Regions from separate parts of the Homo sapiens genome. Here all the other regions are linked to region 1. Evidence: promoter capture Hi-C in 16 types of primary human blood cells and fetal thymus (Javierre and others, 2016). All regions are on one chromosome and are shown on one strand. Each heading gives the region's core, a stretch centred on a gene start or on the middle of the fragment in contact. The rest is flanking DNA. Distances are from core to core; before and after follow the strand shown.

What was found. Contacts are between HindIII fragments. The CHiCAGO score rates a contact against its expected background, and 5 or more counts as called.
Region 2: a fragment that was not itself captured here is called in contact with the fragment with the promoter of INTS1 in region 1 in 4 of 17 cell types (naive CD4 T cells, naive B cells, non-activated CD4 T cells and 1 more); the score reaches 5.2 in naive CD4 T cells.
Region 3: a contact is called between a fragment that was not itself captured here and the fragment with the promoter of INTS1 in region 1, in 3 of 17 cell types (total CD8 T cells, total CD4 T cells and naive CD4 T cells). The highest score is 6.2, in total CD8 T cells.
Region 4: a fragment that was not itself captured here is called in contact with the fragment with the promoter of INTS1 in region 1 in 3 of 17 cell types (M1 macrophages, M2 macrophages and M0 macrophages); the score reaches 8.8 in M1 macrophages.

The regions. Positions count from the first base shown.
Region 1 is chr7:1,501,514-1,507,039 of GRCh38, reverse strand. INTS1 (integrator complex subunit 1) reads left to right here and starts at 2,651. Exons shown (of 48, transcript NM_001080453.3): 1 at 2,651-2,717; 2 at 3,039-3,137; 3 at 3,849-4,139. The coding sequence starts at 3,080. RefSeq lists enhancers at 367-962, 1,148-1,337, 963-1,559 and a silencer at 2,446-3,005. The HindIII fragment of the contact is 9,546 bases long and covers 1-4,642 here.
Region 2 is chr7:2,405,057-2,410,582 of GRCh38, reverse strand. The region is part of intron 1 of CHST12 (carbohydrate sulfotransferase 12); the gene reads right to left. Among named protein-coding and RNA genes, the nearest start is that of CHST12, 4.2 kb to the right of the region's middle. RefSeq lists enhancers at 1,659-1,778, 1,789-1,848, 3,486-3,605, 4,456-4,575. The HindIII fragment of the contact is 867 bases long and covers 2,939-3,805 here.
Region 3 is chr7:2,365,205-2,370,730 of GRCh38, reverse strand. It overlaps EIF3B (eukaryotic translation initiation factor 3 subunit B), which reads right to left. Exons shown (of 19, transcript NM_001037283.2): 7 at 4,283-4,414; 8 at 4,140-4,206; 9 at 3,686-3,732; 10 at 1,049-1,259. Among named protein-coding and RNA genes, the nearest start is that of EIF3B, 13 kb to the right of the region's middle. The HindIII fragment of the contact is 4,651 bases long and covers 185-4,835 here.
Region 4 is chr7:2,195,224-2,200,749 of GRCh38, reverse strand. All of the region lies in intron 10 of MAD1L1 (mitotic arrest deficient 1 like 1), which reads left to right. LOC105375126 (a long non-coding RNA gene) reads right to left here and starts at 1,032. Exons shown (of 3, transcript XR_001745062.3): 1 at 957-1,032. RefSeq lists an enhancer at 5,022-5,316. The HindIII fragment of the contact is 6,509 bases long and covers 1-5,526 here.

The DNA.
Region 1 (5,526 bases), core at 1,402-3,901:
GGATGGGGGATGGGGCCACAGGTACGTGTGAATGTCAACACGCATCAGTGTGCACCCTTTACACCCTTTACACACCTGCAGTTTATCAGACGTCAATCATAACTCAAAAAAGCTGTTTTCAAAAAGAGGCGGGGAGAGGGAGGAGGAAGGCAAAGAGGTAGAGGAGGGGGAGGAAGAGGAAGAGGGGAAGGAGACGGAGGAGAAAGAGAAGAGGGAGGAGGAGGTGGTCAAGGTTGACTCCTGAGTTTTTAGAGAACGAGGAAGACGAGGAGCAGGAGGAGAGAGAAGGGGGAAGAGGTGGTCAAGGTTGACAGGAGGAGGAGGAGGAGGAGGAGGAGGAGGGGGAGGAGGGGAGGAGGGGGAGGAGGAGAAGAAGGGGAACGAAGGGGAGGGGGGAGGGGGAGGAGGGGGAGGGGAAGGAGGGGAGGGGGAGGGGGAGGAGGAGAGGAGGGGGGAGGGGGAGGAGGGGGAGAAGAAGGAAGGGGAGGAGGGGGAGGAGGAGGGGGAGGGGGAGGGGGAGGGGGAGGAGGAGGTAGTTGTTCTCAAGGTCGACCCTGAGGTTCTGGCCTGGGCCCGGGTGAGGGCATTTGCCGAAGGCACAGGCCCCGCATGCAGGGGCGGTGATGCTGGTCAGAGGATGAGGAGAGGCAGGTGGCGGGGCAGAGGAAGCTCTGTGCAGGGTGCTCCCATTCAGGTGACAGGAGGAGGAAGCATTACCCCATCGGATCTCCCCTCCCCTTAGAGAGTTACCCTGAGGGACAGATTGAGAAACTGTAGAGGGATGAAGCCGCACAGCCCCCGCCTGGCGTCCGGCAGGGATCCGCGCCTGACCGGCCTCTCCTCCCATGGGCACCACGGACGTCTCCTTCCGGACTCGCTGCCCACACAGCGCAGGGTGCAGGGCCCTGGAGCCCTTGGGGTCCTGCGGGGACCCAGCTGGTGCCCACAGGAGTGGAAAGAGACCGTGGCGGGTCACACAGCAGTTCTCAGGCTGCAGCCTGGGGCCATGAGCCTCACTGAGGCCACAGTCAAATGGCCACACCCAACTTCAGGGGCACAGGGAGACCAGCTCTGCCTTGCGGTCCCTGGATGAGGAGATGGGACACACCGGGCAGGCGGTGCTCAGGACTCCCTCGGTGGCGGGGCAGCGTTCGAGTCAGTGCCCTGCTGGGAACAGATCTCCAAGATGTGGTTAAGTGGCAAAAGCCAGGTGCAGAAAAGAGGAGCCGTGCGCTACCTGCAGGGTGACAAGGCAGAGGGAGGCACACGGGTGGCTGCCTGAACGCACACGGAAAAGCCGGGAACACAGGCACAAATCAGAACACAGGCTGACTCCAGGGGAGGGGACCAGCTGCTCAGGGGTCAGGGGAGACCTTCGACCCTTTGACTGGATGATTCCCCCACCTTTTATTTTTATTTTTTTTTAGACAGGGTCTCGCTCTGTCGGCCGGCTGCAGCGTAGTGGCACCATCATAGCTTACTGCAGCCTTGACCTCCCAAGCTGAAGAGATCCTCCTACCTCAGCCTCCTCAGTAGCTGGGACCGTAGGCATGCACCACCATGCCTGGCTAATTTATTCTTGATTTTTGTTTGTAGAGATAGGGTCTCACTATGTTGCCCAGGCTGGTCTCAGACTCCCACTTTGGCCTCCCAAAGGGCTGGGATTAGAGGTTCATGCCACCATGCCCAGCTAATTTTTATTTTTTTGTAGAGATGGGGGTCTTGCTATGTTGCTCAGGCTGGTCTCGAACTCAACCGATCCTCCTGCCTTGGTCTCCCAAAGTGCTGAGATTACAGGCATGAGCATCACACCTGGCAACTGTATGATCTTTTGTGTCTTTTGAGTTTTGTTCCCATCAGTGTTTCCATTAAAAAAAAAAAAAAAAAGGCGTGGGGGCGGGGCGGGCGCAGTAATTCCAGCACTTTGGGAGGCCAAGGCGGGCGGACCACCTGAGGTCAGGAGTTCGAGACCAGCCTGGCCAACATGGTGAAACCCCGTCTCTACTAAAAACACAAAAAAATTAGCCAGACATGGTGGCGGGCGCCTGTAATCCCAGCTACTCGGGAGACTGAGGCAGGAGAATCGCTTGAACCTGGGAGGTGGAGGTTGCAATAAGCCGAGGTCGCGCCACTGCATTCCAGCCTGGGCGACAGAGCGAGACTCCGTGCCAAAAAAAAAAAGAAAAAAGAAAAGGGTGAACTTTGTGGAACACGAGTTCTATCTCAATAAAGCTATTATTATTATTATTATTATTATTTGAGACAGGGTCTCTCCCCGGGAGCCCCCCGGGCTGCGCCCCCTCGCCAGTGCCTGCGCCCCGGCCGCCCCCGCTCTCCGGGACGTGCAGAACCTGCCACTTGACTCATCCGCGGATCCCTGACGCCACTCCTCCCCGCCGTGCGTCCTGGAGTGCGTCCCTTCGCAACGCCAGCACCACCTGTGAATGGAGAGGCCAGCGCCTGCCCCGCGCCGCCGACCCACCTGGACCGGACCACATGCGCGCGGCGCCGGCCAGCCCGCCTCCCGCCGCCATGGGGCGCTGCAGGCATCAGGCCGGCGCCGCGGGCCTCTCGCGCCTCCTTCTGGGCCCGCTTCCCGCCGCACTGTTTTCCTTCCGGTTGTTCCGGAAGTCGGGTCCTCGAGGGCGGTGAGATCGGTTTCCGATTCCGGGGTGGCCGGGTGGCGGCGGCGGCGCTCCGGTCGCGATGGGCCAGAGGTAAGTGAGCCGCGGCCTGGGCGCTTCCTCATTGCCGGGCGAGCGCCTGGTTCTCCCGGCTACCGCTCCCGGCCTCTGGGCCGTCCCTTCTGGTTCTGCCGCCTCCAGCCCGGCGTCCGCGTCGCCTGCTGCCGCCCGACTGAGCCGCTCCCGGGCGGCTGGGAGGCGGGGTCCCTGCAGCTCCTGCAGCATCGCCCCGCCGGGCGGGCGCGGGACCACTGTCCCCGGGTCCCAGGCCCAAGCCCCGTGCGGCAAGGGAGCGAATGAGCGAGCGAACGAGCGAATGAGTGAAGGAATGACCGCACGCTGGCTCCTCCGCAGGTGACGCCGCAGCCGCCGGGAGCCGCGAGGGACGGGGCAGGATGAACCGGGCCAAGCCCACCACGGTGCGCCGGCCCAGCGCCGCGGCCAAACCCTCAGGTGCGTCTCCCTCCTCGCTCTGCAGCCCGGGGGTCTTTGGGGGTCTTTGGGGGTCTTTGGGGATCTCAGCTGCCGCGGATCCTGCGTTGGGCTTGGTTGTTCCGCAGCCGCGGCTGTTTCCAGGAATTCGGTCTGGAAACACTGCTCTCGGTCCTCAGCGGCTCTGAGAGTCCCTGGGAGGCTTGGGACAGTGGCGACTTCCTTCGGGACCCCGGTGATCTCGTTTCAGGCTGAGCTGCAAGGCGGCCGACAGTAGCGGAAGGTCTCCCCAGCCAGGAGGCGGGAGGCAGCACAGTGTAGCGTAGCACGGGGTCTGCGGCTGAACTGTCGGCTCAGATCCTCCGGACTTTGCCACTCGCCTGCTGTGTGACGCTGGGCACGTCGCTTAACCTCTCTGTGTCCCTTTCTCTCTTGTAAAGTTAGAGTAATAGCACCTATTGCGGAAACTCGGGGCGGGGGTTACTAAGCACACTAATTTGGATAGACCAGAGATGGCCTGGTTTGTGGTTAGCGCTACGTGACTGTCCACCATCACCTGTGCGTATCCTGCTGGTCCCAGCTCTGCTGTAGGCTGCTGAGTGAGCTCTGGCTTCTTCCTTGCCTCCTCTGACCCTTGTTTAATCCCCTCTGACATAACAGGAGGTTAGAGTCAGTCTTTTTCCATCTTGGGTGTTGCAAATGTGCCCGGTTTTCTCTCTCCTTTCTCTGCAGGGCACCCTCCCCCAGGAGACTTCATTGCTCTGGGCTCAAAGGGTCAGGCCAATGAATCGAAAACGGCGTCCACCCTGCTGAAGCCAGCCCCTTCCGGCCTGCCTTCTGAGCGCAAGCGGGATGCGGCGGCCGCGTTGTCCAGTGCCTCGGCCCTCACCGGTCTCACCAAACGCCCCAAACTCTCCTCCACACCCCCTCTGAGTGCCCTGGGGCGCCTGGCTGAGGCTGCAGTGGCAGAAAAACGAGCCATTTCTCCGTCGATTAAAGAGCCATCTGTGGTGCCAATTGAAGGTAATGAGTCTGTGGACATCCCCCGAGAACACCCCTCAGCTCATGCCGTCCATCAGGTGTTCAGGGAAGGCCCCCTCCAGGCCTAGTGCTGCCCGTATGGCCGAGGTCCTTTGGGAGAGCGGATGTTTGTGGCTTGTTCTTGGAAGTGCTTCTCACGTAGATGCCCTTATCCCGTGTGTGCATCTGCGTCCTGCACTGCCAGTGGCTGCCCTTTGAGAACCGGGTCACTCCCTTATTGAGTTGTTTGTCTCATGTGTCTGTTGGACGCCCCCTTTGTGACGGGCACTGTCTGAGCCCTGGGGGTAAACCGGGCGTGACGACACCCCAGGTGTCTGTTCTCAAGGTTGCCCATCCTGGTGCGTTCCTCTCTCAACCTGAGCGGAGGCGATGTGTACTTGGTTCCTCCTTCCCTCCTGGTTACCAACAGAGAAGAGTTGATCCCCTCCCTGTTTTCAGTTGAAAAGCAGCAGAACAGTAAGGACATCAACGGGGGAATGTAAGCTTCACCACTGTCCCGTTCTCGCAGAAATGCCTTTAACTGTGTGCCTAGAATCGCCCCTGCCCCTCTGCGCCATTTTCCCAACGACCATTTCTCAAGGCTCCGTGACTCCCTGGGAGTCGCTCTGGCAGCTATCGCACCAGCCCCAGCAAGCCTCATGGTCTGCAGTGTTTTGTTTCTGTGGGAGCATCTCTTTTGGGTAATTTCTTTGTAGGAGTCAAAAAGAACAAGTGTCCTGATGACTTTGGTAGTGAGGTGTCTGTTCAAGCCGCGCCACCTCTGGTTACTGAGTTTTGTGCCAGACAGGACCCAGGGGACTTGTGGGCTGTGGCCTTGCCCTCAGGGAGGGACCAGGCTGCTGCAGTGCAAGCCTGTGAGTGAGTCCCCGACGGCCCTGGAAGGGAGGAGGCCTGGCAGGGAGTTGCAGTATGGGCTTGGGCCTGGAAGCACAGGCGATGAAACCGGGGCAGGCAGGAAAGGGAGATGCCAAGCAGAGAATGGACTGTGCCCAGGGAATGGAGGCCTGGCCTGGCCTGGGCAGCACACGCTCATGAGAGCTGAGGCTGGGCGCTGTGGGCAGTGTTTGTGCTGGACTCAGTTGGCATCAGGGAGCCCTGGGGGCAAACGGCCCAGGATGGCACAGCTGGGGGACTGCTTTAGGAGGTCGAGCCTCAGACCTCCCATGAGGCGTGTCCCTGGGCAGCTGGTGCCGGTGGGGATTGAAGACAGAGACCACAGGCCTCATCCTGGCCCGGGCTCTCGGCCGCCGGCGGCTCGGTGCTTTATTTATCTTTAGCACTACCTCCTGTAGAAAGGAGGTTTTGAAGATGAGAGGAGACGTGGTTATGAAAAGCGTATTCTGAGTGGTAGATCACTTTATAGTATTAT
Region 2 (5,526 bases), core at 2,123-4,622, 900 kb before region 1:
TGCACTCCCCATACCCTGGTTTTCTTCATAGCAGCATTTATCCCATCCCTACCTCAAATCTTTTATTTATTATTTTTAGAGTAGTGTCTCACTGTGTCACCCAGGCTGGAGTGCAGTGGTGCAATCGCAGAATCCCTGAACTGCTGGGCTCAAGCCATCCTCCTGCCTCAGCCTCCCAAAATGTCAGGATTACAGGCGTGAGCCACCATGCCTGGCCTCAAATAGCTCATATACACCAGTTAATCCACTCACTGTCTTCCTGCACTGACTTAAAAGGGAGGTCCTCGTCCTGCCTCACAGCGGGTATTCTCAAGGCTTACAGTAGCATCTGGCACTCAGTACTTGCTCAAGAAAGAGGTGATGTTCTAACAAAAACCAGACAAACTCTGATTGCCTAATTTCTGAAACTTGGGGACAGGTGAAGGATGATGTATAATACTGCTCTCTCTACTGGTCGGTATGTTTTAAAACCCCCTTGGAAAACGACGAAAGAAAGCGCTCGGCCGGGCGTGGCGGCTCAGGCCTGTAATCATAATTGCTTGAACTCAGGAAACAGAGGCTGCAATGAGATCATATCACTGCACTCCAGCCTGAGTGACAGAGTGAGACTCTGCCTGAAAGGAAAAAAAAAAAAAGTGCTCAGAATCTCTGATAAATGACCACAACGACGAGACAGCATACAGAGAACAATGACAATAACCAAGAGGAAATCAGAGCAAGGAAACCCTCCCTGTTAACAGGGCCTGTGCACAGAGGCAGGCGAGGGCCGCCATTCCATCAGAGCAGAAAGCCCATCTGAGACTGTTCCCATTTGGGTCAATTCAATGCCACACATACATATCCATGAAAGAGTGAAATCATTCCGTGAGGTGAAGTTTATTAAGAAACTCAACAGTCTCTGTCCCTGCTTCCCTTTCTCACCTCCGCCCTTCTCCATGATTCTTTTTTTTTTTTTTTCTTTGAGACAGGATCTTGCTCTGTCACCCAGGCTAGAGTGGAGTGTGATGGCTCGATCTCAGCTCACTAAAATCTCCACCTCCTGGGCTCAAGTGAAGTGATCCTCCCACCTCAGCCTCCCAAGGAGCTGAGACAGACACAGGCCACCATGTCTGGCTAATTTTTGTATTTTCAGTAGAGACAGGGTTTCGCCATGTTGCCCAGGCTGGTCTTGAACTCCTGGACTCAAGCAATCCTCCTGCCTCGGCCTCCTGAAGTGCTGGGATTACAGGTGCGAACCACCACGCCCTACCCGCTCCATAATTCTTTTTAGCTAATTCTTTTAATGTCTGCCTTCAGAGTGAACCTTGGTTGTTCAGCTTGGGGCATTAGCGACTGACTTCCCAAGGCGACAGGCGAAAATGCAGCGCTCTCCTCCCCACACCTTCTCTGCCCAGGTGCATCATAATTTCAATTAGAGCAGCAGTCAGTGTTTACATAAATTACTATCATTGCGGCGAGGCTATCCACAGCTGCGCCTTGTAGTACACCATAATTATTTTTCGTTTCCCGCACGATGGTTTATTTTCCCTGGAACTAATAACAGCCTTGTGTTTTCATTTGCTTTGTTTAGTACTTATCACTAATCCCGCCCCAACTCTGCCAACTGTATCAACTCCTCTCCAGATGCTGCAGCATGTCAGGTGTCCTGCTAATTTCATCTTCTCCCAAAGAATCTCCTCTTGGAGCCTCTGACCAGCTGGGGTCAGGACATGTCTGCTCTTCACACCAGCACCTGGCTGGGATTTCCCTTCAGCAGGTTCTTCTCACCTCTCACCTGGGGGAAATCCTGTTCCCACCAGCCAGTCTCTCTCAGTCTAGACTTACTGCCTCATCTGGGGAGACTACATCTGCCAATCACCTCCTTAAAGCATGAGGAACAAATCTGGGAGCAAGTCTGAAGTTGTCTTTACCCTACCCTCCCTTGCCTGAGTGTAGACTTCCAGGCTGCAAATGCATCCTTCAGAATTTCTCAAGCAAGGCCCTCCCGTCTCCTGCCACCCAGTGCTGCTTTGAAAAAGCCCAAGCCCTTCTGCTTCTTTTCATTTTAATTGTAGTTAGTTCTTCTGCCTTTTTCCACATGTTCTAACCTTCTGCCTCTTGACCTGTGATGACCTATTTGTGATTTGTTTTTACTTTCTCCTCTTGTTCTGAGATTTCACAACAGTATGTCCTGGAGAGGGTACGCAAGGATCTTTTTTTTTTTTTTTTTTTTTTTTTTTTGAGACGGAGTCTCACCCTTGTTGCCCGGGCTGGAGTGCAATGGCATGATCTCCACTTACCGTTACCTCCGCCTCCCAGGTTCAAGCAATTCTCCTGTCTCAGCCTCCTGGGCAGCTGGGATTACAGGCACCTGCCACCATACCTGGCTAATTTTTGTATTAGCCAGGGTTTCACTATGTTGGCCAGGCTGGTCTCAAACTCCTGGCCTCAAGTGATCCGTCCACCTCGGCCACCCAAAGTGCTGGGATTACAGGCGTGAGCCACAGCGCCTGGCCTCTGAACTCTCACTATCCAAATTCTGGGGTCAACAGCTGCAGACATGCTTTCAAATAAATCCTTCCCCTCCCAAGCTCTCACTAGTCTTTATCTGAAACTCAGCCTCTCTCACTATCCAAGTTTGCTGCCCAGACTTTTAATTTTTTAAATTTTATTTTTGAGACGGAGTCTCATTCTATTGCCCAGGCTGGAGTGCAGTGGCACGATCTGGGCTCACAGCAACCCCCGCCTCCTGGGTTCAAGCAATTCTCCTGCCTCAGCCTCCTGAGTATGGGATTACAGGCACCCACCACCATGCTTGGCTAATTTTTGTATTTTTAGTAGAGATGGGGTTTCATCATGATGGCCAGGCTGGTCTCGAACTCCTGACCTCAGTGATTCACCTACCTCCTAAATTGCTGGGATTACAGGCATGAGCCACCACACCCAGCCTTCCCAAGCTTTTAATATCCAAGCTGAGAAGTGAAGAGGCTATGAAAGTGAAGGATACCTGCATTTTCACCCGTGGTACTGGCCACTGGGTGAGCCTCTTTAACCCAGAAAGTTTGGGTTCTAGGAAATTATTTTGTGAATTTCATCCTGTTTTCCCTATTTTTTTCTTCTGGAAACTTTTTAAAATGTATTTTATTTTATTTTTTAGAGATGGGGTCTTGCTCTGTCACCCAGGCTGGATGGCAGTGGCATGATCACAGCTCACTGCAGCCTCAAACTCCTGGGCTCAAGTGATCCTCCCACCTCAGCCTCCCAAGTAGCTGGGACTACAGGTGCACACCACCACACCTGGCTAATTTTTAAATTTTGTTGTAGAGATGGGGGTCTTGCTATGTTGCCCAGGCTGGTCTTGAACTCCTGGCCTCAAACGATCCTCTCACCTCAGCTTTGAAGCTCTTACTATTCAGCTGCTGACTTCCTGATCTGATCCTTTCCGTTTCTTTTTTCTCTCATTTGCCACCTCGTTGCTTTTCTGTTCTACTTTCTGAGGGAGTTCCTCAACTTTATCTTTCACCCACTAACTGATTTTCTTATTTCTGCTTTTATTTTTTTTTTTTACATCCGAGAGTTCTCTTTTTGGATATTCGAATACTCCTTTTGGTGGCTTTTTTTTAGAGCTTCCTGTTCTTGCCTCATGTTCGCGATATTTTCGCTCACCTCCGCGTGGACATTAATGACAGCCTGCTTTCTAAGGCTCCTTCCTGCACGCTCTCTGGTTTCCCAGTGTGTATTCTGGTCTCAATCTCCTGTAGCAGAGGTTTTCTTCAGATGCCCTTGGTTATCTGCTCATATTTAAGGGATGGGGATTTTTAAAGCTTGATGCCTTGAACACTGGGAGGGGGTTATTAATGACGGGCTTCGTTAGCAAGGGATCCAGCTGGGTCTGCTGACTGGGGACCTCCTGATGTCATTAATTTTAGGTCTTTTCTCTTGGGCTACTCAGATTCCCCAAAGACACATCCATCCTCCTGTCTACAGGGAAAAGCCCCAGCTGGTCATGTTCTGGGAGCCAAAGGGTCCCTGTTCGCTTCCTCCTCCTGTGCCCTGTTCAGCACTGCGCCCCCACCCCATACTCAACCGCGCCCCCACCCCGTACTCAACTGTGCCCCCACCCCGTACTCAACTGTGCCCCCACCCCGTACTCAACTGTGCCCCCACCCCATACTCAACTGTTCCCCCACCCCGTACTCAACTGTGCCCCCACCCCATACTCAACTGTGCCCCCACCCCGTACTCAACTGTACCTGTCTCCCATTCTTCTCTGAAATATCTTTAAAGTTTCTAAACAGTTACAGAAACCACCACCTTAACAGCAGGAAGTAATAAGTTGGAGAGTCAATTATCTCCAGGCACATCTGTGGGCCAGGGCTGGAGAACCACAGTCCCGCCTGCAGCCACAGACCCACTAAGCAAGTGTGAAACTAACAGCTACTCTCCGAAAAGAAAGACAACTTAAGAATCGAAACTCAAGATGTACGGTTTTTTTAAATGACAAACAAGCCGCATGTGTTTCAGTATCATCAATAACCCGTCTTTTCCCACTGATGGCTCCTTCAGCCCCTGACCCACACTAGAAGAGAATCACCTGCCAGCCTCAATGACTGTGCGTAGTCAAGGAACTGCACGCCCAAGGTCAGCCAACCAACGGGCCTCTCTTCAGCTCTGGATCCCTTCCCACTGGGGTTCCTGGGGATTCCCTCCTTGTACAGGCTGTCTCTTCTCCACCAGGTCACATCTCCTCCAGGATGGCCACCAATACCGCCAACTCTGCAGGTCTAAAACCCACGTGTGTTTGTGTGGCCCTTCCTCTCCCACCTGGCCGCAGCGCTCCTCATCGCAGGTGAGAAGTCCCGGCTGCCCTCGCTGTTACAGGTCGCCACATCTCACAAAGCGCCACCGCCCAGTGGATTTGGCAACATCTTTCAGCTCCATGCCCGCCCCCACTCTCTCACTGCCCCAGACCCACGCCCCACAAGGCTACTCAACTCAGCTCCACTGCCCAGAGGCAAAACCCACCTCCCATATTCTCACCACGACCACTTTTCTGAAACACATCTAATCGCGTCGCACCCAAACCACCACCAAAGGGATAAAAGTTTAAACTCCCTCACACAGCATTCAGGCCCCTGCACAATCAGAAACCCATCTTTCCAGTCTTTTTTTTACTCTGTTGCCCAGGCTGGAGTGCAGAGGCCCAGTGTCGGCTCACTGCAACTTCCGCCTCCAGGTTCAAGCTATTCTCTTGACTCATCCTCCTAAGTAGCTGGGACTTCAGGTGTGCACCACCACGCCCAGCTAAATTTTGTATTTTTAGTAGAGATGGGGTTTCACCATGTTGGCCAGGCTGGTCTCGGACTCCTGACCTCAGGTGATCCGCCCGCCTCTGCCTCCCAAAGTGCTGGGATTACAGTCACGAGCCACCTCGCCCGGCCTTCCAGTCTTAGCTTCCAACCCAATCCTCAAACCCCACTTCATCAAGAACACGGCGACCCACCATCTCCCCCAAACATCACTTTCACTTCCACATCTCTGCATGCC
Region 3 (5,526 bases), core at 1,261-3,760, 860 kb before region 1:
TGAAACTCCTAGCCTCAAGCTATCCTCCCTCCCACCCCGGGGGAGCCACCGCACCCAGCCGATGAAAACGTTCTGAAATGAGTGGTGGTGGCTGCATAACTCTGAACACACGAAAAACCACTGAACCAGTTCACCACTCTAAAGGGGTGTTTTCAGGCATGTGAACTACATGTCAATTAAAGCTTTCTTAACATAAAAGAAAGAAGAATACTTCTATTAGAGGGAAAACTCAGGAATTTCTTTTTTTTTGTGAGACGCAGTCTGGCTCTGTCGCCAGGCTGGGGTGCAGTGGCGCAATCTCGCTCTGTTCACTGCAAGCTCTGCCTCCTGGGTTCAAGCGATTCTCCTGCCTCAGCCTCCCGAGTAGCTGGGACTACAGGAGCCTCCCACCACGCCCAGCTAATTATTGTACTTTTAGTAGAGATGGGGTTTCACACCACGTTGGCCAGAATGGTCTCAATCTCTTGACCTCATGATCCGCCCACCTCGGCCTCCCAAAGTGCTGGGATTACAGGCATGGGCCACTACACCCAGCCAACTCAGGCAATTTTTTGATAAAATAAATATTAAATGATCAACCACCAAAAATAAAAAAATAAAAAAATAAATCTTGAGTATACTACTCCTTGTGCTTAGAAAGAAAATAATATTCTCAGCCAGGCACGGTGGCTCACGCCTGTAATCCCAGCCCTTTGGGTGGCCAAGGCGGGCAGATCACCTAAGGTCAGGAGTTCAAGACCAGCCTGGCCAACATGGTGAAACCCTGTCTCTAATAAAAATACAAAAATTAGCCAAGCGTGGTGGTGGACGCCTATAGTCCCAGCTACTTGGGAAGCTGAGGCAGAAGAATCATTTGAAACCAGGAGGCAGAGACTGCAGTGAGCCGAAATCGCACTCCTGCACTACAGCCTGGTGACAGAGTGAGACTCCATCTCAAAAAAAAAAAAAAAAAAAAAAAAAAAAAATCCATTAACACCCTCCAAACAATACGGTGGCCACTTCAGAGCTCAGGATAAGGAATCGTCAGTTCCTGTGGGAATCTACATACCTGGGTGCCTTTCGGAGTCCTATCTACTTTCACACACAAGTAGTCTCCGTTCTTCTGCCAATGGAGCTTGCAGTCCACCACATTGAACAGGTTCCTCACTCGGATCTCTTGCCTGGTAGGGAGCTGCATCAGGGTTACCCTGGCTGGAATATCTTTGTCTTCAGGCACCCAGAAGGCGATTATGTTACCACCAGGAGACCAAGAAAAGTCTCTGCAGAACAGGAAAATAAAATGTTAAAGCAAAGACCAAGTGATGACGAAACTGAAAAGCAGAAGAGAATAGAACAACTCATTTGCTATATAGAAGCTCAATGCTGTCACAGCTGACGCTGAGCGCTCCCTCTGCACAGCCACTGCTCTGGGCATGCCGCGCAGCTTCATAGGTCCTCGCCAGGACCCTGTGGCACTACTGTGCTCACTGTGACAAGGAGTGAATGCAGACAGAATATTAGCAACCCCACCATCACGCACAGACTCATATGGACTCCAGCCTGGGCTCCGTCAGCCCACTCTTAAGACACCGCACACTGCTGCTTTGAGGCAAATAAGTTTTAGGCTGACGGATCTGGCTACATGTCATCTAAAGATTAATTAAGGTGCAAATGGGGAAAATGGCAAATCAAGTGTAAGGAATGAGCAAGAACAAGGGCAGCTCCCTCCACTTTATCAACTACTCTACAGAAGAGCTGCTGTAACGAACGGCTCCTGAGCTCACCTACATGAAAAACATCTTTATACACGCTATGTGCTGTTTTGCATTTTTTGAGAACCAACGTCCTGGTCTTTTCATTTTATAAGCCATAATTTTGCCCAAGAATGTAAAAACGAAAGAAGAAACGTCAATGTCCTTGGATTGTTGGAAGTTCACTGCCGTGATACTGACCAGTCCCAAGTTTTGCGATAAATAAAAACGTGCCCATTCTTTGCTGGTGAAAATGAGCCGAAGGCTCCCCAAACCCTGCCTCGGATGGAAGAGTACCAGGAAAACCTTTCACCTAAGCAGAGTCCCCTCTTTTCCTTAAAAGGCTGGAAACCCCACCCTCCTCAGTTTCTAGATCAAAGACGAGGTAGATGGAAGGAAGCCGACTCAAGGCTCTGGCCTTGAAAATTCATTTCTAGGCACGGGAAGGGGTCACTGAAGTGGTGCCTCAAGGGTGGCGGGCCCAATGCTGAGCAGCCTTGCTGCCCACTGACTCAAGCCTCCATCCTTGTGTCCAGAACAAACTCACCTTAGGCCGGGCGCGGTGGCTCACACCTGTAATCCCTGCACTTTGAGAGGCTGAGGCGGGCAGGCGGATCACTTGAGGTCAGGAGTTCGAGACCAGCCTGGCCAACATGGTGAAACCCCGACTCTTCTAAAATATACAAAAAATTAGCTGGGCGTAGTGGTTGCGCGCCTGTAATTCCAGCTACTCAGGAGACTGAAGCACCAGAATCGTTTGAACCTGGGAGGTGAAGGCTGCAGTCAGCCGAGATCACGCCACTGTACTCCAGCCTGGGCAACAGAGTAAGACTCTGTCTCAAAAAAGATTTAAAAATGGCTGGGTGTGGTGGCTCACGCCAGTAATCCCAGCACTTTGGGAGGCTGAGGTGGGCAGATCACTTGAGGTCAGGAGTTCTGAGACCAGCATGGCCAACACAGTGAAACCCCATCTCTACTAAAAATACAAAAATTAGCTAGGCATGGTGGCAGGCACCTGCAGTCCCAGCTACTTGGGAGTCTAAGGCAAGGAGAATCACTTGAACCCAGGAGGTGGAAATTGCAGTGAGCCAAGATCTCGCCACTCTACACCAGCCTGCAAGACAGAGTAAGACTCTGCCTCAAAAAAAAAAAAAAAAAAAAAAAAAAAAAAAAAATTTTAAAAAAAGAACAAACTCACCGTTTTCTCTCCAACTGGTTAAGAACTGAGTGACAGGCTGGGCATGGTGGCTCACGCCTGTAATCTCAGCACTTTGGGAGGCTGAGGCGGGCAGATCACAAGGTCAGGAGTTTGAGACCAGCCCAGCCAACATGGTGAAACCCCATCCCTACTAAAAATACAAAAATTAGCCGGGCTTGGTGGCACATGCCTGTAGTCCCAGCTACTCGGGAGGTTGAGGCAGAAGAATCACTTGAACCCAGGAGGTGGAGGTTGCAGCGAGCCAAGATCGTATCACTGCACTCCAGCCTGACGGAGCGAGACTCTGTCTCTAACAACAACAACAAAAAGCTGAGTGCTAAAGGAGAGACAGCAAATAAAGGAAACCAACTGCAATGGACCACGTCTGTGTCCCCCAGATTCACAGGGTGAAATTCTAACCCCCTGGGGTGACGGCATGGGGTGGGGCCTTTTGGGGGGTGGGAGGTCCTGAGGGGGAAGCCCTTGGGAATGAGATGAGAGACTTTACAGAACAGGCCACGGAGGCCTTCCTCCAGGGAAGGCTGGACCGAGGGGCTGTCCACTAGGAGGGAGGTGGGCCGTCACCAGACAGTCTGCAGGCACCCTGACCTCAAGCTCCCAAGCTCCAGAACTGGGAGAAAGAAATCTCAGCTGTCATAAGCCACCCAGCCTATGGTATTGTGTTTTTTTTTTTTTTTTTGGTATTGTGTTAAGCAGCCTGAACACACTAAGACACCAAACTGATAAGAATACTCACTTTATCCCAGAGATCTTCAAACTCTTCTTGTCCAAAAGACCCATAGACTGCCCAAAAAAAAGGAAGGCTGCAGTTGAGTCAAATCATGTCAGTGTCTCAGAAACACACCTAACTTTTTACAAAAGGAAACAAGAGTCTGATGTGAGTTTGCCTAGGGGGCAGTGCACACAGAGCGTGACAGTGAACCCATCCACCCACCCGCCACCCAGAACTGCAGTTCTGAAGCCCACTGCATTAACTCCCATCCAGGACTTCCCACGGCTGCGCCAGGTGGGCAGGAGTGACTGAAGAGCTCTGCCCAGAGCAGGGGCAGTTAAAAAGGCACAGGAGACAGGCCTTTCCTATGCATCTGTGAAACCTCCTCCTCCTCTTCTAGCACAAATAAGGAAAGGCACCACACCCCGGTTACAAGCAAGGACCGGACGGGGCGTTTGCCATCACTGAGGCCACTTACAGGAGTTTCATAGATGCTAAGCGTATCCAGGGTCATTCTGGCAAAGAATTTGCCATCATGGCTCCACCTAAGAAAAACAAAAGTGCCAGGGTATTCCCATGAAAAGACAAAGGCTACAGAGCTCGTTACAATGGTCCACTTACTTAAAAATAGGCCAATGGGCTGAGCTCTCACAGTGAAAACCCCTCTTCTTGTGCCCCGTAAGGATGTCCCAGATGATTATGGCCTGAGGGTCATCCTGCGTGTCCATCAGGGGGCTAAAGGTCACCAGGTACCTAGAAGAGAAGGGCAACACTGTACACTATCCTCCTCTCACGAGAGGATCACAGTCTGTCTGTGCGGCCAGAACACGCCGTCAGAACTCGCGGAACCAGCTCTCTCCCCAAACCCCACACTGCCCGGCCCCAAGAGACCCAAGCGGAAGCGGGAAGCAGCGGCGCTTGTTCATTCTGGTGTCAATACGCTGCAGGCGCTCCGGTTTCTCCAAGATCAGCACAGAAGATCTCACCGATCCCACACAAGGCTGCTAAGTGATCCAGAGGGTGGCGCAGTGTGGAACTCTATCTTTACCCATGTTTAATAAAGACTAACAAGTTAAAAAAATACGGCTGGGCGCAGTGGCTCACACCTGTAATCCCAGCACTTTGGGAGGCCGAGGTGGGTGGATCACCCAAGGTCCGGAGTTTAAGACAAGCTTGGCCAACCATGGCCGACATGGTGAGACCCTGTCTCTACTAAAAATACAAAAATTAGCCGGGCGTGGTGGCAGGCACTTGTAATCCCAGCTACTCAGGAGGCTGAGGCAGGAGAATAGCTTGAACCCGGGAGGTGGAGGTTGCAGTGAACTGGTATCGTGCCACTACATTCCAGTCTGGGCGACGCATGAAACTCAGTTTCAAAAAAAAAAAAAACAAAACAAACAAACAAACAAACAAACAAAAAAACAAGTCCCATCCAGTTCGAAAGCCAGCACAGGTCTGATAGAAACTTCAGAGCCTGGGGGCTCCTCCCAGCCATGATTTACCTGACTGCTGGCTTGTCTGGAGCTACTGCACCTGCTTACTCAGTTCACACAAAGTGTGTAACAGACGGTCCCTTACAACACCAGAGGGGAAGGCAGACACAACCCATGAGGGCGAAAACAGAGCGGCCCCAGCTCGCCTCGCACTGCCTTCCACAACTGCCCCTTTCCCTAGAGTGGCCCCCGTTCGCCTCACACTGCCTTCCACAACTGTCCCTTTCCCTAGAGTGGCCCCAGCTCGCCTCACACTGCCTCCCACAACCGCCCCTTTCCCTAGCAGGCCTCCGACAGCCGGATTAGCTAGATCAAAAATCACGGCTCGGCCAGGTGCGGTGGCTCACGCCTGTAATCCCAGCACTCTGGGAG
Region 4 (5,526 bases), core at 1,124-3,623, 690 kb before region 1:
AAGCAGGCGGTCCTCGTGGTAGCACCGTTTGTGCAGAGCCGCGGTGGGGAGAGCGGGCTTGCGTTCACAGAAGTGCTGTGAGATGATCACTTCATCACAAGCCAGTCAGCACCAGCCTGTGGGGCGGCTCATGTGGACTAAGTGATCTGACTTTCCTGGCTTTTGTTTGACGATGTTTCCACTGTTATCCAGGTGCAGAGAGCTCTGATCTCCCACGATCGGAAGTACCGTGTGCGTGTCTTACCTGGGCAGAATGCAGAGACCTTCACTGGCAGCTGTGTGTGGACCCTGGGGCTCTGTTACACAGCCAGGTGCTGAGGAGCAGGGCTCCGAGCCAGGCCAGCGAACCTTCCTTAGACCCCCTGTGTGCAGGCCTGGTGCCTGGTGTCGGGGGCCCAGTGGAGAACAAGATCCGGCTGTTGCCATGGGACTTTCGTCTGGTGGGGAGTCCTGAGGAGGATGTGGATGAGGTGGAGAAGAGGTTCCAGGTGAACGCAAGTGTCCACCCTGCATTCCAGGGTGGCAGGCGGCCCGGGGCGGGTGTGGGGTGGTTGGGTGGGCGCCCCGCGTGCTATGTTAGCGTAGGGTGGTGCACACCTGGCCGGCAGGCCTTGGTCCCGCTCTTCACCCTCCACCTGTCGTGGGTGCGCCCCGGGAGGGGTGGAGGATGGAGGGCAGGCGTGGGAAGAGCTCTGAGACCCTTGGCTTCATGGAGAGTGTTGGGCAGTTACCCCTCCCTTGCCCTCGGGCCTTTGTGAGTGTGGCTTCCTGGAACTCTGGGGGATTTGTCACCAGTGACTGCAGGGGGCTCTCCCATCCCTTTCATCCAGGCTTCACTGTCTGCCCTAAGCTGGGGACTGGTCCAGCTGACCTGGATGGTGCGGAGTGTGGGCCCTGCTGGCCAGCATGGCGTTGGGAAGCACCTAGGTGGGTGGTGGGTTGGGTTGTGGCCTTACCGCGGAGTCTGGGCTGCAGCTGAGAAAGCCGTCTCCTAGGACCAGGAATCTGGGTTTGGGAGGCTGGAGGTCTTGGCCCAGCAGTTCAGTGGCTGCCCGGTGTGTCTGCCTGGCCTGGCCCTCGTCTGGTTTCCGTTGTCTGGGAGGCACCCCTGCCCGTGCCAGGCGGGGCACTGCGGGGGCGCGGATGCGGAGTGGAAGACTGCTGATTTAGGAATCGAAACTCCAGGGACATCCGTGTAGCAGAGTGATTCTAAGATGATTAAGAAAACCATCAATGATTTAAAGAAAGTGTTCACTGCAGTCCTTATTGAGCGGTTTGCCGCGTGCAGGGCATGTGGGGGTGGCGCACCAGGCTGCAGGCGCCCTTCATGACGGCAGGCAGGGGACCTCCTAGGAGTCTTGGCTGTGACACGTGAGGTATGAAGGCCAGAAAGGTGAACGTGTGGAATCTGTGACCCAGAAGTAACAAACTCCTTTCTTGGAGAGCAGTTAGGTATTCCATTCCTTAGTCCATATGCCAACATTTAAAAAGGCCAAAACCAGAGGCCTAGAAAATGTATCTGGAAGTTGCAGTGAGACCGTTTTTGATCATTGTGGCCTTCCTGGGGCTCAGTTTCCTCGCTTTGCAAATGCCATTTTGGCAGGGATCTGCTGTGGGGCATCTCCGTGCAGGTGGAGCTGGAGTTGCGCATCTTTCTCAGGCTGGCATCATACAGGCCCCAGTGCACTCTGGCAGGGAGGGGCAGCCCCCTCCTGGATAGCCCCGCCCAAGGCCGGGAGGACTGTGAAGGGGGGATCCCACTGCCTGACCTCAGCCTGTCGGGCCCCACAGCGCGTCTCTCTGTGGACTGGTCGCCGGCTTCCTGTGGCCTGTGTGTCCTCCGAGTGGCTGGAGCTTTGGAACCCTATTCTGTAGCTTGGAGCTCCTGAGCCTCAAAGGGCAGGGGCCTGGTTCCTTGCCCATCCTTGCCCAGCCTGATGGCCTGTGCTTGTGGACTGTACATGGGCACCTGCTTTAACACCTGGAGGAGTAGGGGCTACCAAGAGCATGTGGCTCTGGGCCTCCCTGGGAGAGTCACTCAGCGGCAGGAGAACTGAGTGGGACACATCAGGGAGTGTCTGTCTCATGGACGCCTGTTGGCCTGCAGCCTGGAGAGGGGGCCTGAAGTGTGTGTTCCATGCTCTTGACCCCCAGGAAGCACTCGCCTCTGTTGAAAGCCTCGTGCCGCAGAGCGCGATTGCTGTCCCGGGTGGACGGCCATCACGGGCTCCTTGCTCCGGCGATGCCAGCGCTCCTGGTGTTGTGTGTGGCTGGCTCCCCCTTGTCTCAGCCCTGGGCTTAGAGCAGGCCAGGTGCTCAGGCAGTGGTTTTGTTGCTTGAAGGGGGGTGTGTACCTGGCTGCAGCCTGTGGAGAGCGTGAGTGGCTGGCAGAAGCAAAGGCGGGCTCTTGGGAGATGAGAGCAGGCAGCCGGCCTGGAGGCTTCCATGGGGCTGGTCAGCTCCTGCTGGCTCTTCCTGGCACAAATCCACGCTGGGCTGGGTGCCTTGGCTCACACCTGTAATCCCAGCACTTTGGGAGCCTGAAGTGGGAGGATCGCTTGAGCCTGGGAGTTCAAGACCAGCCTGGGCAACACTGTGAGACCCTATCTCTATTTTTAAAAATAAAAATATAAAGATAACCCTTCCTCCAAAAAAAAAAAAAAAAACCCAAACTCATGGTGGACCTTGGGATGAGCGGGGGCGCTTGTGGGGCAGAACTGGGTGTGGTTGCCCCGTCCTGGGCCTGTTCCCAGGCCTGCTCTTAGAGGAGGGGCTGATGGGCCCTGTGGGTGCAGGGAGATGGGGTCAGTCACAGGCTGGGGCCTGGGGGCTGGGACCTGGGGGCTGGGACCCGGGGGCTAGGACCAGTTTTGGCTCTCAGGCAGGGAGGGGTTGTGAACTCTGTTTTGGGAATGTGTGTTTGAAGTGTCAGTGATGTAGCCAGAAGGAGGTGTCAGACAGCAGCCGATGTCAGGCCTGCATGGCTCCTAGAGGAGCCCTAGGGCTGGCCTGCCCAGTGAGGGGCAGGGATGAGCCGGCCTAGGGGAGTGGCAGAGCCAGAGGAGCAGACAGCTGGCCCGAGTCTGGAGGGATTTTGGCGTTTGCAGGTGGCTTTGAGCCTGAGGGCCAGTGCCTCACCGGGTCAGAGAGCTCTGCAGCCCGCCAGTCCTGGTCGTGCCTGTGTCCGAGCTTGGGCCCGTGTGCAGGGAGAAGGTGGCTGTGCAGTGCACGTCGTGTGTACCAGGCGTCGGCGGAGTGATGCGTGGGTCGGGGCGGGAGATGAGAGGAGGAGTGAGGAGAGGCTAGAAGCCTCCAGAGCAGTGGGGTTTCTTCCTCTTCTTCACTGGTGAGTGCTTCTTGAACACATAGGTGTGCAGGCCTGGTGCTGGGTGCTGGGGATACAGCTATAAGTCAGGGGCTGTTTTCCAGTCCTCTCAGATCTAGCCGGGCATATGTCTGCTAGGTCAAGCGTGGCTCCTGAAGAGATGACACTTGAGAGGCTGGCAGCATGTTCCAGATAGGGTGGGTGCTGGCAGCACACAGGTTGGCCAGATGCTGCGTGTTCGGACAGTGTTGTGTGGCTCCAGCTGGTTCTAACCACAGTTCTCCTGGGATGTGGCAGAAGCTGGACAGGTTGGCAGGGATCTGTCCTGTCCTGAGGGTGGTTTGGACCGCGTCCTGCAGGTCACAGGAGCCGCAGAAGGTCTTCATCAGGGAGGAGCACATCCGCCAATTGTGAAGGGGCCTCTTTCCTCACTGAATTCGCAGGGCGAGGACCTGGCGCCTTGGCAGGACCCTGCTGGTGGAAGTCCCTGGGGCTGTCTGACCCGCTGCAGGTTTCAGCAGCCCCGAAGTGTGGGGAGGGTGGGCGGTGTTTCCTGTTGTCAGTTGAGAGCCTCATGGAGTAGGAGCCGTGGAGTCAGCCGCGTTGTAGTGAGAGTTAGAATTGAGCCGCACTGTTCCTGTGAGCAGGGAGCCCGAGGCCTTCTGACTTCTGAAGAGGGTTCGTGTTGAAGGCCAGACTCTCCCTGTTTTTCTGTTTCCTCTTCAGGTGAATGCCTGTTCCTTTGTGACCACAGTGTCTGTGGGTAGCACTGTGATTTTGGAGACGCTCGTTTGTTTGTTCATCTGAACATTTATTTGGAGACCTGCCGTTTGCCAGGCTTTGGGCTGGCTCTGGCGACGCTGTGACGAGCACAGCACAGTCTGCCCACGTAGTGCACACACACAGACAGCTTTAAACAATGAAAACAACAGGGGTGCCTCCTCAGATGCAATCTTTTGGAAGATGCCGCAGGAGCGTTTTGCGGGAGTATCTTAGTTGGAGACGGCCTTGTTGGATATGAATGACGCTGGTGGGAATGAAGGCCAGACGTTTTCCCTGGTTTGGAAACAGGTGGCTTACAAGAGTTTCTAGAGTTTATTTGTTTAAAGACAGAGCCTGTTCTCAAGAGGGTCTTCACTTTGCTGGCAGGATGGCACTGTTGACGGTGGTGGTTGGCTCTGGAGAGCTGCTGTGTAGTTGACAAAGCCTGTTGATAATCAGCGTCTCATTCGTTCTTCCTCAGAACCCTGTGGACTAAGCTGGGTTCTGGGAGGGGCTGACTGGCCCAAGGGCATCCAGTGAATTTGTGGCCCTGTTGCCGGAATGCTTGGCTGATCCTGGAGTATGGTGAGCTGTGCCCTCAATAACCTCCATCCATCTGGCTGGCCACATGGTGCCATGCAGCTGGATCCTGCATTTTTGTGAGCTGATCAGCCCGATGCTGGCACTGAAAGGATTCTGTTGGGAGCTGCCATCCATTTAGCCTGAGCGGAACTCAGCACATGTGCGGGCATGAAGCCCATCAGCTGATAGCTTCTTTTTCAGACCTGATGGCTCCCAGCCGAACTTTGGCAAGAAGGACCTACCAGCCTGCTGGAGGGCTGACCTGCCTGCCTTTGCTGGGAGCCAAGCACCTCCTGGCAGTTCTGGGATTTGGTTTTCAGTGGGAGGAGGCTCTCTGCAAGGTAGAGTAAGAGCAGTAATTACTTGGGAGAGGAAGCGTTTAACTTCTGAGGCTGCAACACAATACTATCTTGTTCGCGGAGGTGGCTGAGTTAGAAGATTAGCAATTAATTTTTTATCAGGTGCAAACTACTCTTCAGTTTCATGGAATCAAACAGTCCTCCCACAGCAAGGGAGGGGCAGGCTTCCACCCCGTGTAATTTTTCAGAGCACTGCTGTTTGTCTGCTTTTGAGCTGATAGGAATTATTTACGAGTCTATTTGGAGGACATTTTGACACACAATTCTTGGTATTCCCATTTGCTCTTTCTAGTTTTTACTTTTCCTGCATTGCTAGCGTTTACTGCAATTAGGTCTCAGGAGTATTTTGCCTTTTATTAGGATTGCAATTACAAAATGCAGGTATCAACTAGGTTCCTTTAAATCAAAGCTCACTTTTTATTGACTCGGATAAGAAAAGTAGGTATTTTTAGTAGACTGAGTTGAAAAGAGTGTCATTGGTAGCTATTACAAGCATTT